Linked DNA regions of Homo sapiens: region 1 is linked to region 2. Evidence: promoter capture Hi-C in 16 types of primary human blood cells and fetal thymus (Javierre and others, 2016). All regions are on one chromosome and are shown on one strand. Each heading gives the region's core, a stretch centred on a gene start or on the middle of the fragment in contact. The rest is flanking DNA. Distances are from core to core; before and after follow the strand shown.

What was found. Contacts are between HindIII fragments. The CHiCAGO score rates a contact against its expected background, and 5 or more counts as called.
Region 1: a contact is called between a fragment that was not itself captured here and the fragment with the promoter of FOXC2 in region 2, in 8 of 17 cell types (M0 macrophages, M1 macrophages, M2 macrophages and 5 more). The highest score is 21.7, in M0 macrophages.

Annotation. Positions count from the first base shown.
Region 1 is chr16:87,083,697-87,089,821 of GRCh38, reverse strand. No RefSeq gene overlaps it. Among named protein-coding and RNA genes, the nearest start is that of LINC02181, 29 kb to the right of the region's middle. RefSeq lists an enhancer at 653-1,302. The HindIII fragment of the contact is 3,669 bases long and covers 848-4,516 here.
Region 2 is chr16:86,562,372-86,568,864 of GRCh38, reverse strand. FOXC2 (forkhead box C2) reads right to left here and starts at 2,036. Exons shown (of 1, transcript NM_005251.3): 1 at 1-2,036. The coding sequence starts at 1,529. The coding sequence ends at 24. FOXC2-AS1 (FOXC2 antisense RNA 1) reads left to right here and starts at 1,104. Exons shown (of 2, transcript NR_125795.1): 1 at 1,104-1,248; 2 at 3,547-3,720. RefSeq lists enhancers at 733-1,316, 1,317-1,901. The HindIII fragment of the contact is 11,287 bases long and covers 1-6,493 here.

The DNA of each region.
Region 1 (6,125 bases), core at 1,433-3,932, 520 kb before region 2:
GAGGAAGATTTACAGAAAGGAAGGAAAAAGGAGCCAGGAGGTGGATCTAGCCCCCATCCTAACTCGCTGAGTTCCTCTCTTGGAGAGAGTACTGCTACCAGAACTGTTGTCCAGGCAGGTGCTCCTGTAAAGATATGCTAAACATCGAAGTGTGGAATGATCCCACATTTCTACTTGGCTGAACATGTGGCACTGGTTGCAAGTGGCCTCATGGCTGTTGACAGGAAAAAAGAAAAAGCAGGCCAGGTGCAGTGGCTCACACCTATCATCCCCACACTTTTGGAGGCCGAGGCAGGTGGATTGCTTGAACCCAGCCTGAACAACATAGAGAGATCCTATCTCTACAAAAAATACAAAAAAAAAAAAAAAAAAAAAAAAAAAACAAACAAAAGCTGGGTGTGGTGGTGCACGCCTGAAGTCCTAGCTACTCAGGAGACTGGTTGAGGGAGGAGGATTGCTTGAGCCCGAGAGGTTGAGGCCATAGTATGCTGAGATTATGCCACTGCACTTCAGCCTGGGCAATGGGAGTAAGACCCTGTCTCAATTTTTTTTTTTAAGCCAACTTTGTAAAATACGAAAAGGGGTTTATTTTGAGCCAATATGAGTGGCGATGGCCTGAAGGATGGTCTCAGTAGGTCCTGAGAAAGTGTACCCAAAGCGGTCAGGTTACAGCTTAATTTTATACATTTTAGGGAGACAGAAGTTACAGGCAAAGACATAAGTCAGTATGTGTAATGTGTATATTGGTTTGGCCCAGAAAGGTAGAACATCGCAAAGCAGGGAGGCTTACAGGTCATAGGTAGATTCAAAGATTTTCTGATTAGCAATTGGTTGAAAGAGTTAAGCTTTGTCTAAAGACTTAAAGTCAGTAGAAAGTTCAGATAAGGGGTGTTGTGGAGACCAAGGTTCTTGTTATGTAGTTGATGCCTCCTGGGTAGCAGTCTTCAGAGAGAATAGGTGCTAAAGGTGTTAGACTTTTACTTAATCTCTCTTAAATCCAATAAAGATCTGGCTGCATTAATGAAGATTCTCTACAGATGCAAAAATTTCCCTACAAATAACTGTGTTGCAGGACCATTATAAAATATGTCAAGGAAATATATTTTGGGGCAAAATATTTTGATTTCCTTCAGGCTCTGCTGTTATGTGATGCTATACTAGAATCATGTTGGGATTTGATATGTTATTGCCGCAAAGAATATGTTTTGTCTGTCTCACGATCTCTATTTTAATGTTAATGCTGGTCAGTTGTGCCTAAACTCCAAAAGGGAGGTGTGTAACAAAGTGTATCCAACCTCCCTTCCTGTTAGGGCCTGGATTCCAGTTTTTTTTTTTTTTCTTTTTTTTTTTTTGAGACAGAGTTTTATTCTGTCCCCCAGGCTAGAGTGCAGTGGTGCGATCTCAGCTCACTGCACCCTCCAGCTGGCAGGTTCAAGCAGTTCTCCCGCGTCAGCCCCCCTGAGCAGCTGGGATGACAGGTGTGCAGCACCACTGCCAGCTAATTTTTGTATTTTTTGTAGAGACAGGGCTTCACCATGTTGGCCAGGCTGGTCTTGAACTCCTGACCTCAAGTGATCCTGTCAGAAGCATGTTAACCAGAGCAACTCCATCTTGAATAGAAGCTAGCTAAAATGAGGCTGAGACCTACTGGGCTGCATTCCCAAACAGTTAAGGCATTCCAAGTCACAAGGTGAGATAGGAGATCAGCACAAAATACAGGTCATAAAGACCTTGCTGATAAAAACAGGTTGCAGTAAAGGAGCTGGCTAAAACCCACCAAAACCAAGATGGTGTGACCAAGGATGGAACTCTGATCATTCTCACTGCTACATCCCACCAGTGTCATGACAGTTTACAGATGCCGTGGTAATGTCAGATGGTTACCATACATGGTCTAAAAAGGGGAGGCAGGAATAATCCACCTATTGTGGAGTATATCATCAAGAGATAACCATAAAAATAGGCAACCAGCCACCCTTGGGGCTGCTCTGTCTATGGAGTAGCCATTCTTTTATTCCTTTACTTTCCTGATGAACTTGCTTTCACTTTACTCGATGGACAAGCCCTGAATCCAAGAACTGAGTGAGATCCAAGAACCCTCTCCTGAGGTCTGGATCGGGACCCCTTTCCTGTAGCAATCTGCCCTCCTTGGCCTCCCAAAGTGCTAGGATTACAGATGTGAGCCACTGTGCCTGGCCTGGAATTTAGTTTTTCAGGTTGCTATGGGGTCCTCTTGGCCAAGAGGGGGTGTCCTTTCAGTTGGTTTGGGACTTAGGGTTTCATTTGGGGTTTATGTGGCCCAACGAAGCAGGTGAGAACACCCAATGAAGAAGGTGAGAGCACCCTTGGGCGCCTGAGGGACAACATCTCCTTGCACCCTTCAGCTGGCTTGAGATCTCCACTCCATGGTGATTGAGCTCAGTCTCTTGGGTTTGGGTCTCAGAACTCCACTCTGCCTCCTGAGGGCTCTAATCCCACCATTTCCTCAGTGACTGGGAAGGTCAACCCCTTCTATTTTGTCCACTCTGCCTTCCCTGTTTGTTTTTAAATAGACTTAATGTTTTAGGGTTGTTTTAGGTTTACGGCAACATTGAGCAGAAGGTACAGAGATTACGCTGTTTTCATCTCCTGGTTTCTGTTGATGCGAAGGTGCACATCTACCTCCTCTTAGCTCCTGGATTCTACCCACTCAGAGTTTCTGTTTCTCCTAACCTCAGTTAGGCATGACTCCTGAATGTCTGTCTTTTAACTTTTCCTTCTTTGCTCCTGTCATCAACTGATTAATTCTTTCTTTTTCCCAAGTAAACACCCTGATGGGTGCCTCCTATGAATTGGCAGCGCTCTATTCAGGAGCCCAAAATTAACCCAGTAAATCATGGCCTCAGTGACTGCAGGATTAGGAACAGGGTTGCCTGGGGTCTGTGGGTATTGCATACCTTGTGATTGACTTTTACTGTAGCCAATTGAATTTCACATTTAGGGAGTTGTATGCTTCCTCACTCTAGCAGCATAGTAGCCCTGGGAAACAGTCTAGTCATGATTATCTGGATATGTGAATTTTGGGATGATCCCTTGGCTGACTTTCAGCAGTTAGAGGCAGAATTGCTGATGCCCAGGGGCAGGCTTTGGGTGATGGTGTTGTTGGTGGATGGGGAAAAATGGTGAACTCCTGATTCTTTCCTTCCCAGCCCAGGGAGCCAGAGGAAATATGCCAGGGGAGTTTGACTATCCAGTGTTGGATGCAGTCTCTTGTGTTTTGGTCTGTGTTGGCCACAGGAGCCTTCATTATAGCTGAGCTAAATCAGAAGCCCCAGAGTCAAATGAAGGTCATGTCTGAGGCTGCATGTGCTAGCCCACTAAAAAGCCATTTCCTGGTACAGAGTTGTAAACAGGCTTGCATGCACATATAAGCTCTTTCTTTCTGATCGCAGTAGCTGGCTGCACAGTCTGTGGCTCAGTCGCTTCTCTCTGGCCTGACCCTTCCATGGTGGGCCTGTGAGGTGAGTCATTGCTGAGACACACGGATATCCACAGCCTCTGTGGATGTCCGTGCCAAGCAGAATGCTCCTGGCCACTGTAAATCTGGCTCCAATTTGGACTTAAATTCATGCATGAGTCCTTTTCCTTGGGCTTGGATGCTCTGGGACCACCTGCTCCCTTCTGGGAAATCAGGACTTTTCCTTTTTATCCAAATCAAAGGGTGACTGAGCCAGTGGCCAAAAGGGTGTTTGCATTGGTATGAAGAGGAAGAGTGGTTCAGTCCCCCTGGAAGTGGACTCAGCACCCTCATCCAAATTCCAAACCCATAGAACCCAGCAAGGCTCCAGGGCCCTTGGCTGAATCTTATCCTTTGGAATTTGGACTGGGGTGAAATTCTTTTTGAAGGTAGCATGGACCTGGGTCAAGGAGAGGACTTGAACAGATCTCTGTCCAGCCTGGAAATTTGATGATTTACATGAAAGGAATTGAATGCTGGCATTGAATTTCTCTTGGATACCATGGGACCTAAAATGTAAAGGAAGCAAATTGAGCAAACACCAGCGTGCATTTGACTATAACGAATATACTCTGAAATGTCCTTCGGAATGTTATAGCAAAACCCAAATTGGGGCATGTCAGAAGCAACTCTGGATATAATCCTCAGCCACCTGGATTTTCCAGCTTGCACTCACCCCGAGTGGACTCCAGCCAAGTTCCTCTCTGTTCTAACACAGGAAAAAATTACTTTGGTGATTGGATGGGGTAGGTGTCTCCCACTCCAACAGCTAATTGTGGAAATGCAATTTCATCAAGTCTTGATATTTCTAAAACCAAACAGGGAAACTGTGATGAAAATGTGTTCCCAGTTCGTTCTCCATCCCTCTCCTGGGGAGAGAAGGGGATGCTGCATGGGAAAAGGACTCATGCATGAATGTGAGTCCAAGTTGGAGCTGGATCTATATTGGCCAGGAGCACTTTGCTTGGGAAACTTCTCTGTTGCTGAAGAGTTTGCTGGAGAGCAAACCTACCTGAAGCTTGTGCTTTATAGGATATAACTACGAGGTGACACAGGATATGATTATGAGGTGACTTCAAAAAGTTTGTGGAAAAATGGAATTAAAAGATACAAATAAAAAATATAAACTTTATTTCTCAACATAAGCTTCACCAAGGTCAAGACACTTTTGTCAGTGATGACACCAGCCATTTAGTCCATCCCTAAAGAACTGAAGCTCCTGGAAATTTAAACACATCAGTGTAGTCTTTTATATATTATTAACTAGAGAAAAATGGGTGCCCTTTAAAGATTTTTCAAGATTAGGAAACAAAAAGAAGTCCAGACAAGCCAACTCAGGACTGTAAGGTGGACGCCTAATGATGTCTCACTGACATTCTCACAAAATTGCCCTTGTTTGATGAGAGGAATGAGCAGGAGCATTGCTGTGGTGGGGAAGGACTCACTCCACCACCAAAGGATTTCACAGGCATTTTTCTGCTAGAGCTTTGGCTAACTTTCTTAAGCCACTTCCATAACAAGCAGATGTTATAATGCTTTGGCCTTCCAGAAAGTCAGCAAGCAAAATGCCTTGAACATCTCCAAAAATTGTTGTCACGACCTTTGCTCTTGACAAGTCTCCTTTTGTTGCGACTGGACCGCTTCCACCTCTTGGTAGCCATTGCTTTGATTGTGCTTTGTCTTCAGGATGGTACTGGTGAAGCAATGCTTTACTGCCTGTTATAATTCCTTGAAGAAAATGCTTTAGAATCTTGATCACACTTGTTAAAAATTTCCATTAAAAGCTCTGCTCTTCTCAGCAGCTGGTCTAAGCACAATGGTTTTGGCATCCACCAAGTGAAAAGTTTGTTCATCTTAAGTTTTCAGTCAGAATTGTGTAAGCTGGCCCAGTTGAGATGTCTATGGTGTTGGCTATTGTTTCTGCTGTTAATCACTGGTACCCTTCAATAAGGGCATGAACAAGATACATTTTTTCCTTGAAAATTGATGTGGATGGTCTGATGCTGTGGGCTTCATCCTCAGCGCTGTCTCATTTCTTCTTAAAATGAATTAATTATCTGTAAACTGCTGATTTCTTTGGGGCATTGTCCCCATGAACATCTTGTAAAGCATCAGTGATTTCACCCTTCTTCCATCCAAGCTCACCATAAATGTGATGTTTGTTGTGGCTTCAATTTTAGCAGAATTTATGTTGCTCTAATAGAAGCTCCTTTTAAACTGATGTCTTGTCCCTTCCTAGTGCCTCAAGCTAGATCCTGTTTAGATATGTTATAACCAGTTAACATGAGTTTATTTTTATGCAAACAAATTTGAAATTTATAGTTTTTTTCATAACACATAAGAAGACCTCTTGTATTTCTACATTATTTCAAACATTTTTTACTCTCAAAATTTGACTGGCCCCTTTCTTCGTTTGCAGAAGTTGGATTTGTCTCCTACTCCATAGAAGAAATAGAGGCCATCAGATAAGAATTTCCTCAACTTGGCCAGGTGTGGTGGCTCACTCCTGTAATCCCAGCACTTCGAGAGGCCGAGGCGGATGGATCACGAGGTCAGGAGATCGAGACCATCCTGGCTAACCTGGTGAAACTCCGTCTCTACTAAAAATACAAAAAATTAGCTGGGCGTG
Region 2 (6,493 bases), core at 787-3,286:
GGGAGGGGAGGTCCCGGGACACGTCAGTATTTCGTGCAGTCGTAGGAGTAGGGGGCTGCGTGGCGATAGAGAGGCGGCGTGGATCTGTAGGGCAGCTGGCAGCTGGCATTGCCACTCACCTGGGACTCCCCGAGGGTCGAGTTCTCAATCCCCAGCCGGTGGGAGTTGAACATCTCCCGCACGTTGGGGAAAGTTTGCTGCTGGGCCGCGAACGTGTGGCCGGGGAGGTGGTTCAGGTCCCCGCTGTGGTTGAGATACCAGGAGGCCGCCTGCGCCGCGGCGGCCCCGGGCTGCGGCGTCGGCTGGGGCTGGGGAGCCGGCGGGGGCGGCGGCGCCTGCGGGTGGTGGTGGCCGTGGTGCTGGTGGTGGTGGCCCGTGGCGGCGAGCGCGCCCTCCTGGCCGGCGGCGAGGTTGAGAGCGCTCAGGGGCGACGTGGGGCCGCTCGGGTGGTCCGAGAGGGCCTCGTCCAGGGCGGGCGGGACGCACATGTGCGCCGGCCGCTCGGCCCCGGTGTACAGGCTCATCGCTCGCATGCTGCACTGGTAGCCCCCGGCGGCCCCGGCCTCCAGGCCCTGAGCGCACGGCTGGCCGTAGGCGGCGGGCGGCGCGGCGGCGTAGGGCAGCGCCAGCGGCGGCACCACCAGGCCCGCGCGTCCGGCCCCCGGGCTCAGCTCTCCGCCCGGCGGCGACGTTCGCAGGGTCATGATGTTCTCCACGCTGAAGCCAGGCAGCCCGTTGGGCGCCGCGGCGTGGTGCTCCGGCAGCGAGCCGTCGGGGGAGCCGGCGGGCGTGGAGGCCGCGCTGCGCGGGCTGCCCTGCAGCGCGCTCTCGGGGCTCAGCGTCTCCACCTTGGTGATGACCGGCAGCGCCGGGGACGCCGCCTCGCTCTTGATCACCACCTTCTTCTCGGCCTCCTTGGGGGCGTCCGCTAGGTGGGGGGTGGCCGGGGCGCCCTTGGACGCCGCCGGGGGCGGCTCCTTGAGGTGGGCCCGCTCCTCCTTCTCCTTGGACACGTCCTTCTTTTTGAAGCGCCGCCGGCGCCGCAGGAAGCTGCCGTTCTCGAACATGTTGTAGGAGTCCGGGTCCAGGGTCCAGTAACTGCCCTTGCCGGGCTTCTTGTCGTCGCGGGGCACCTTGACGAAGCACTCGTTGAGCGAGAGGTTGTGGCGGATGCTGTTCTGCCAGCCCTGCTTGTTCTCCCGGTAGAAGGGGAAGCGGTCCATGATGAACTGGTAGATGCCGTTCAAGGTGATCTTCTTCTCGGGCGCGTTCTGGATGGCCATGGTGATGAGCGCGATGTAGCTGTAGGGCGGCTTCACCAGGTCCTTAGGCGCCGCGGGCTGGTGGTGGTGGTAGGGCGCGTAGGAGCGGCCCATCCCCGCGCTGTACTGCTCCGGGTGGCCGGAATAGACGCCCATGGGGCTGGCCATGCCGCCGTAGCTGCCCGCAGCCCGGTAGTAATTCTGCTCGCTCAGGTAGGGCACCACTCCCAGGGCGTTGGGGTCGGACACGGAGTAGCGCGCCTGCATGCTGCTTCCGAGACGGCTCGCCGGCGCCCTCGCGCACGGACTGCGGCCGGGGGAGCGAGGGGGGCCCTGAGAGCGAGAGAGCGCGAGAGAGCCAGAGGGGGAGAGGAGGGGAGCGGGAGGGGCGGCCCCGGGCTCCTGGCAGCCTCCGGGGCGAGGGTGCGCGGGCGGCGGCGCTCGGGCCGAGCAGGGGCGCGCGCTTTCAGCGGACCGGGCGGATCGGCATCCTGGAGGGCGCGCCCCGGGCAAGCGCAGCGCCGGCCCCGCTCCTCGCTGGCTCCAGGACCCGGCGGCGGCAGCGCGGGCAGGCGGGCGGCCGCGGACCCAGCGGAGACGCCGCGGCCTGGGGACCCAGGTGGACCCTCGGCCCGCGCGAGGAGGGGCGCAGGAGGCTCTCCAAGCCCCCAGCGAATCGGCAGCCCCGAGGGTCAGCGCGCCGGGGTCCGAGCGGCTGCCCCGCTGAGCCCAGAAAAAGAGGCCAAGTCCCTTTTAGGGATTGGGAAAAGTTTCAAAAGTCTTCTTGCTGAAAGCGAGTTTTTACTTTCCTCGGGCCACGCCCCCTCCCGGAACTTTGAGCCAATCACCCGGCAGCTGAGAGGAGTCGGCGCCAATCGGGGCGAGGAGCGCAGGAATCCGTCGGCTCTAAGACCCCGCCGCCCCGGCCTCCGCGGCGACTCCGTCTTCACTTGAAAACTTTTTAAAAAGTTATATCTTATTAAAATTTATTTTATGATCACATTTTGGTGAATGGGCCCACATGCCCAAAACAAAAAGATAGCCACTTTCCTCTGTTAAAAAAAATCAATTTGAAATATAAAATAGAATGGATTAATAGAGTAAAATATCTCTCCCAAAGACCTTGTAAGTAGCAATGATCCTGGGACATTTTTCTTATTAATGAGTGATGAAGCGAATAATTAGATTTCCTAATTATGGGGGCCCAGGTGTAATGGATTCAAAGCAAACGCGCTGGATTGGAATGGCAGGGCCTCTCCTGGATGTTATACTTATTTAATCAAATAATTAATCATCAACAGGGAGTTTCCAGGCTCGGGGTCGTCAAGGATAACCTATCGAGGTTTTAGAGGTAAACCCTACAAACTGAGTTTCCCTCGCTCCCCGCCGAGGAGCCAGGCAGCGGAGTGCATAGAGGGGAAGGTAGCAACGTGCTGACTGACAACTTAATCCTCCGAATTCGCGGGGAATTCGGTAGATCATCCGCGTCGCTGCGAGCAGTTTTGTGGGGTTTGGGGAAAAGGGTGAAGTGACTCTGCTATTTCCCCCTTTCGTCTCCCGCGTGGACACTCGCAGCCTACCAACTTCAGCTTCGAAACTCGTCTCCCTTTTCCCAGGTAGAAATTCCCTCTAACAAGCTGACCCCGCACTCCCAGAAGACCGGGACAATGCAGCGACCCACCCGGGCCAGGCAGAGCCGAGTTCCTGGGCCCTGCGAGGAGAAACCCGAGCCTGTTTTCCGCGGGGGCTTGGCTCGAAGGCGCGCGCAATGAGCGCCGCGCACCGCGGGCACCAAGCGTGGACGTTTCCCGTGGCCCAGGCCGGCGCCGGCCGCTAACACCGACCCTAGGGCGCTGTCCCTGCCTCCTGCTCCTGGCAACGTCCCCCTGGGAGCCTCCAAGTTGCTTTTCTATATTTCAGCCTTTTTTTTGTTTTGTTGGGTGGGTAGGGTGAGTTAGGGAGCGCGCTCCGTGGGAAGACTGGGTGAGCGGTTGATTGCAAACGGTTCAAGATCCCTTCGGGATGATATTATTCGGCAGGCAGACCTGGAGCGACTTGGATCTCCTTCAAGGATTTCTCCTTCCCTCTAGGAATCCCGGACAGTTTGTTTATTTGTGGACTGATTATTTATTCCTTCCACACCTCAATAATCAGATCCCCTTTTCCCACTTTCCCTGAAGGAGTGAGACACCCCTTTAACAAGGCTAAACACGGGCAGAATTTTGGAAGTTGCTGGTCTGGTTGGGCAGGGAAGAGGGCTTCAGGGAGAACATTTGTATTTCAGGTTTCCTTGCACCCTTCCTGGCTGTTCATCGGCTGCGTATTCGATTCTCAGCAAAAGGATGTTGAGACAACCCACCAGGCCTCTTCGCTTCGGCCTCTTCGCTTCGGGGAGGCGACTAGAAGGCAATGGGGCGTGCCACTTATTTCCAATAAAAGAACAGAAGACGAAAATGTAGATGCATTATCTTTGTCTCCTGATCAATTCAAAGCCAAAGGGAAGCTACAAATCAGGTTCCTTTACCTTGAATATTCCACTTCTGAAACATTGTTTTTATGAGTATTCTGGGCTCTTTTTCTAACCTGATCCTTTTTCTTCTTTCTTTGAAACAAAGTAAAATAAAGCTGCCCAGTTCTCAGCTCACAGGCAAATGATTTGAGCTTTCTGCCCCAACCCTAAACTCCCACCATGACTTTATTATTTTTAATAAGCTAGTATTTCCGCATCTAGCTTAAAAAAAAAAAAGGACTAGCAAAAAGTGCCCTTCTCCTGCAGCGCATGACAGGCACACTGAGTTCGTGTCACGATTTTACTGGAAATGCAAACTATTGATCAAGAAACACTCCTCAGCCTGTAGGCTTCCTGGAGGAATATTATTTACTCTGCTTTTACGAGGGGTGTGTGTGTGTGTGTGAGAGAGAGAGAGAGAGAGAAACAGCTTTATCACAGCAAAACCTAAAATAGCTAAGGACTATGAAAAAATAAATTCCAAAATGGCAGTTGCTGCCTACGTTTGTATTCACAAGGGTGTCCCGGTTTAAACCAATGTCATCTGGGGAAACAAACAAACAAACAAACAAACACCTAAATCGAGTCGCCCAATATATTATCCACCCTCCCCCGCCCCAAAGAAAGGAAAAGGGGAGGGGAAAGAAATTCGTCTCATCAAGACAGAAAAGGTGAGAGAGACACTTCCCTTTACCCCTGGAATTAGGTTTCTTGTTTGCTCAGTGGGACTCCGGGAAAGATGTTTGTTCAGGTTATTAAAACAACGCCTTCCATACACCTGGACTTTGCAAAAACCGTATTTCCCAGCTTTTCTTTAACCTGCCAGGGTATTTCGGATGGGGGGCTGCTACTTTCTGGCTGATTTTCCCCCTTCTTGACCTTGTAAGTCAGTGAGCCGAACGCGGAATCGGGTCCCAGAGGGCCTCGCGTGTTCCTGGAATAATAAGCGGCGATAAAGCCTAAAGGTATTTAATTCGCCTTCCGCCCCCACCGCGCTGCGCTCCTCCCGGCCCGTGGCCGCTGCACCTGGAGCGGCTGGGCGGACTCCGTGGGTGTTGGCGTCATCTTGAGGCCAACCAGGGAACTACTACGAGAAAAGGAAAAAGAAAAAGACCGCCCGGCCCGCCCTGCTTATCATGAAGGTGCTGACACCTTGTGGATACTCCTGGGCATTGCACGGCTGGAATGGAGCCTTCAGAAATCTGTAAAAGCAGAGAAAGGAGATAAACTGCATCGCGTCGATTAAAAAACATTTCCCGTAACTTCGCAACGTGTCAAGAACATGATCTGTTGGGAAACAAAAATGTCTTTGAAACTGCTCGGGGAGCAAGAAATTTTCTCTAGGGAAACTTGCTGGGGTTTTCCCCAAATAAAATCTATGCCTCTTAGGTGGCTAGAAGTCTGCATTTTCTTCCCCCGGAGTTGTTGAACAAATTGCCTCGTCCATGTTTTCCCGCTGCAGCTGTCTTTCTGCCCGAGGTGTGGCGTGAGCTTCAGGGAATTCATCAGAAAGCTGTTTGTGCTGGTCGTGTGTTTAGAGGGTTGGCTTGAACAAGAGGCAGACTTTGAAACTGGGCAGCAGCCACTTCTACTTTTGAGGTACAACAGAGAACTCAAAGAGGGGACAAGTGAAAGGAGTTTTGTTTCTTGTCTCACTATTTCCCATTCATTCATTTCAATATCCTTCAAACATTTCTTTTCTGGGGTCACGAGGTGCCTTGGTTTTGAGGAAAGGGATCGGGTGGCAGAGGAGTCCCAGGCTTCCAGAAGCTGCCTGAGAACCGAGGAGCCCTTGGGTTACACAAAGTCGGCGCCACCTCCTAAAAATCCATTGTAATCCGGCTTCTAAACTTTTGTGGGACAAAAAAAGTGTCTTTTCTAAAACTCAGTTCAAGCTCATTTTACTGTGTGTGAGTTTTCCGGTGAGTGAAAGCCATGCTGCGCCATCGACAAAGGGCAGGGCCAGAAAGGACTACAGAAGCGGGTGGGTAGTGAGAACTGCTGTTGGTCACAAGGATTAAAGAAACTCAACAAGTAAACGCAACCCTCAATCCTAGGCGGAAGAAATTTTTTTTTCTTTTTTCTTTTTTTCCTGTTGTTGTTGAGACGGAGTCTTGCTCTGTCGCCCACGCTGGAGTGCAGTGGCACGATCTCCGCTCACTGCAGGCTCCGCCTCCCGGGTTCACGCCATTCTCCTGCCTCAGCCTCCCGAGTAGCTGGGACTACAGGCGTGCGCCACCACACCCGGCTAATTTTTTGTATTTTTAGTAGAGACGGGGTTTCACCGTGTTAGCCAGGATGGTCTGGATCTCCTGACCTCGTGATTCGCCCGCCTCGGCCTCCCAAAGTGCTGGGATATTTTAAACAGCAACCAAGGACAGGTTTGAGGAGACTTGGGAAGATTTGCATCTGGGATGTGTATGAGATAATAACCTTGAATCAAGGGTAAGATTCTTGCGTGCGATAATTATACATGGTCAAGTAAGAGCATGTCCTTGCTTTTAGAAGGTACGTGTCAAAATGTTTGGGGCTGATATTCATCATCTCTGCAACCTTTAAAAAATTCACCCTGCCGGGCATGGTGGCTCATGCCTGTAATCCCAGCAGTTTGGGAGGCTGAGGTGGGAGGATCGCTTGAGCTCAGGGTTTCAAGACCAGCCTGGGCAACACAGTGAGACCCTATCTCTATAAAAAATACAAAAAAAAAAAAAAAAAAAAAAAA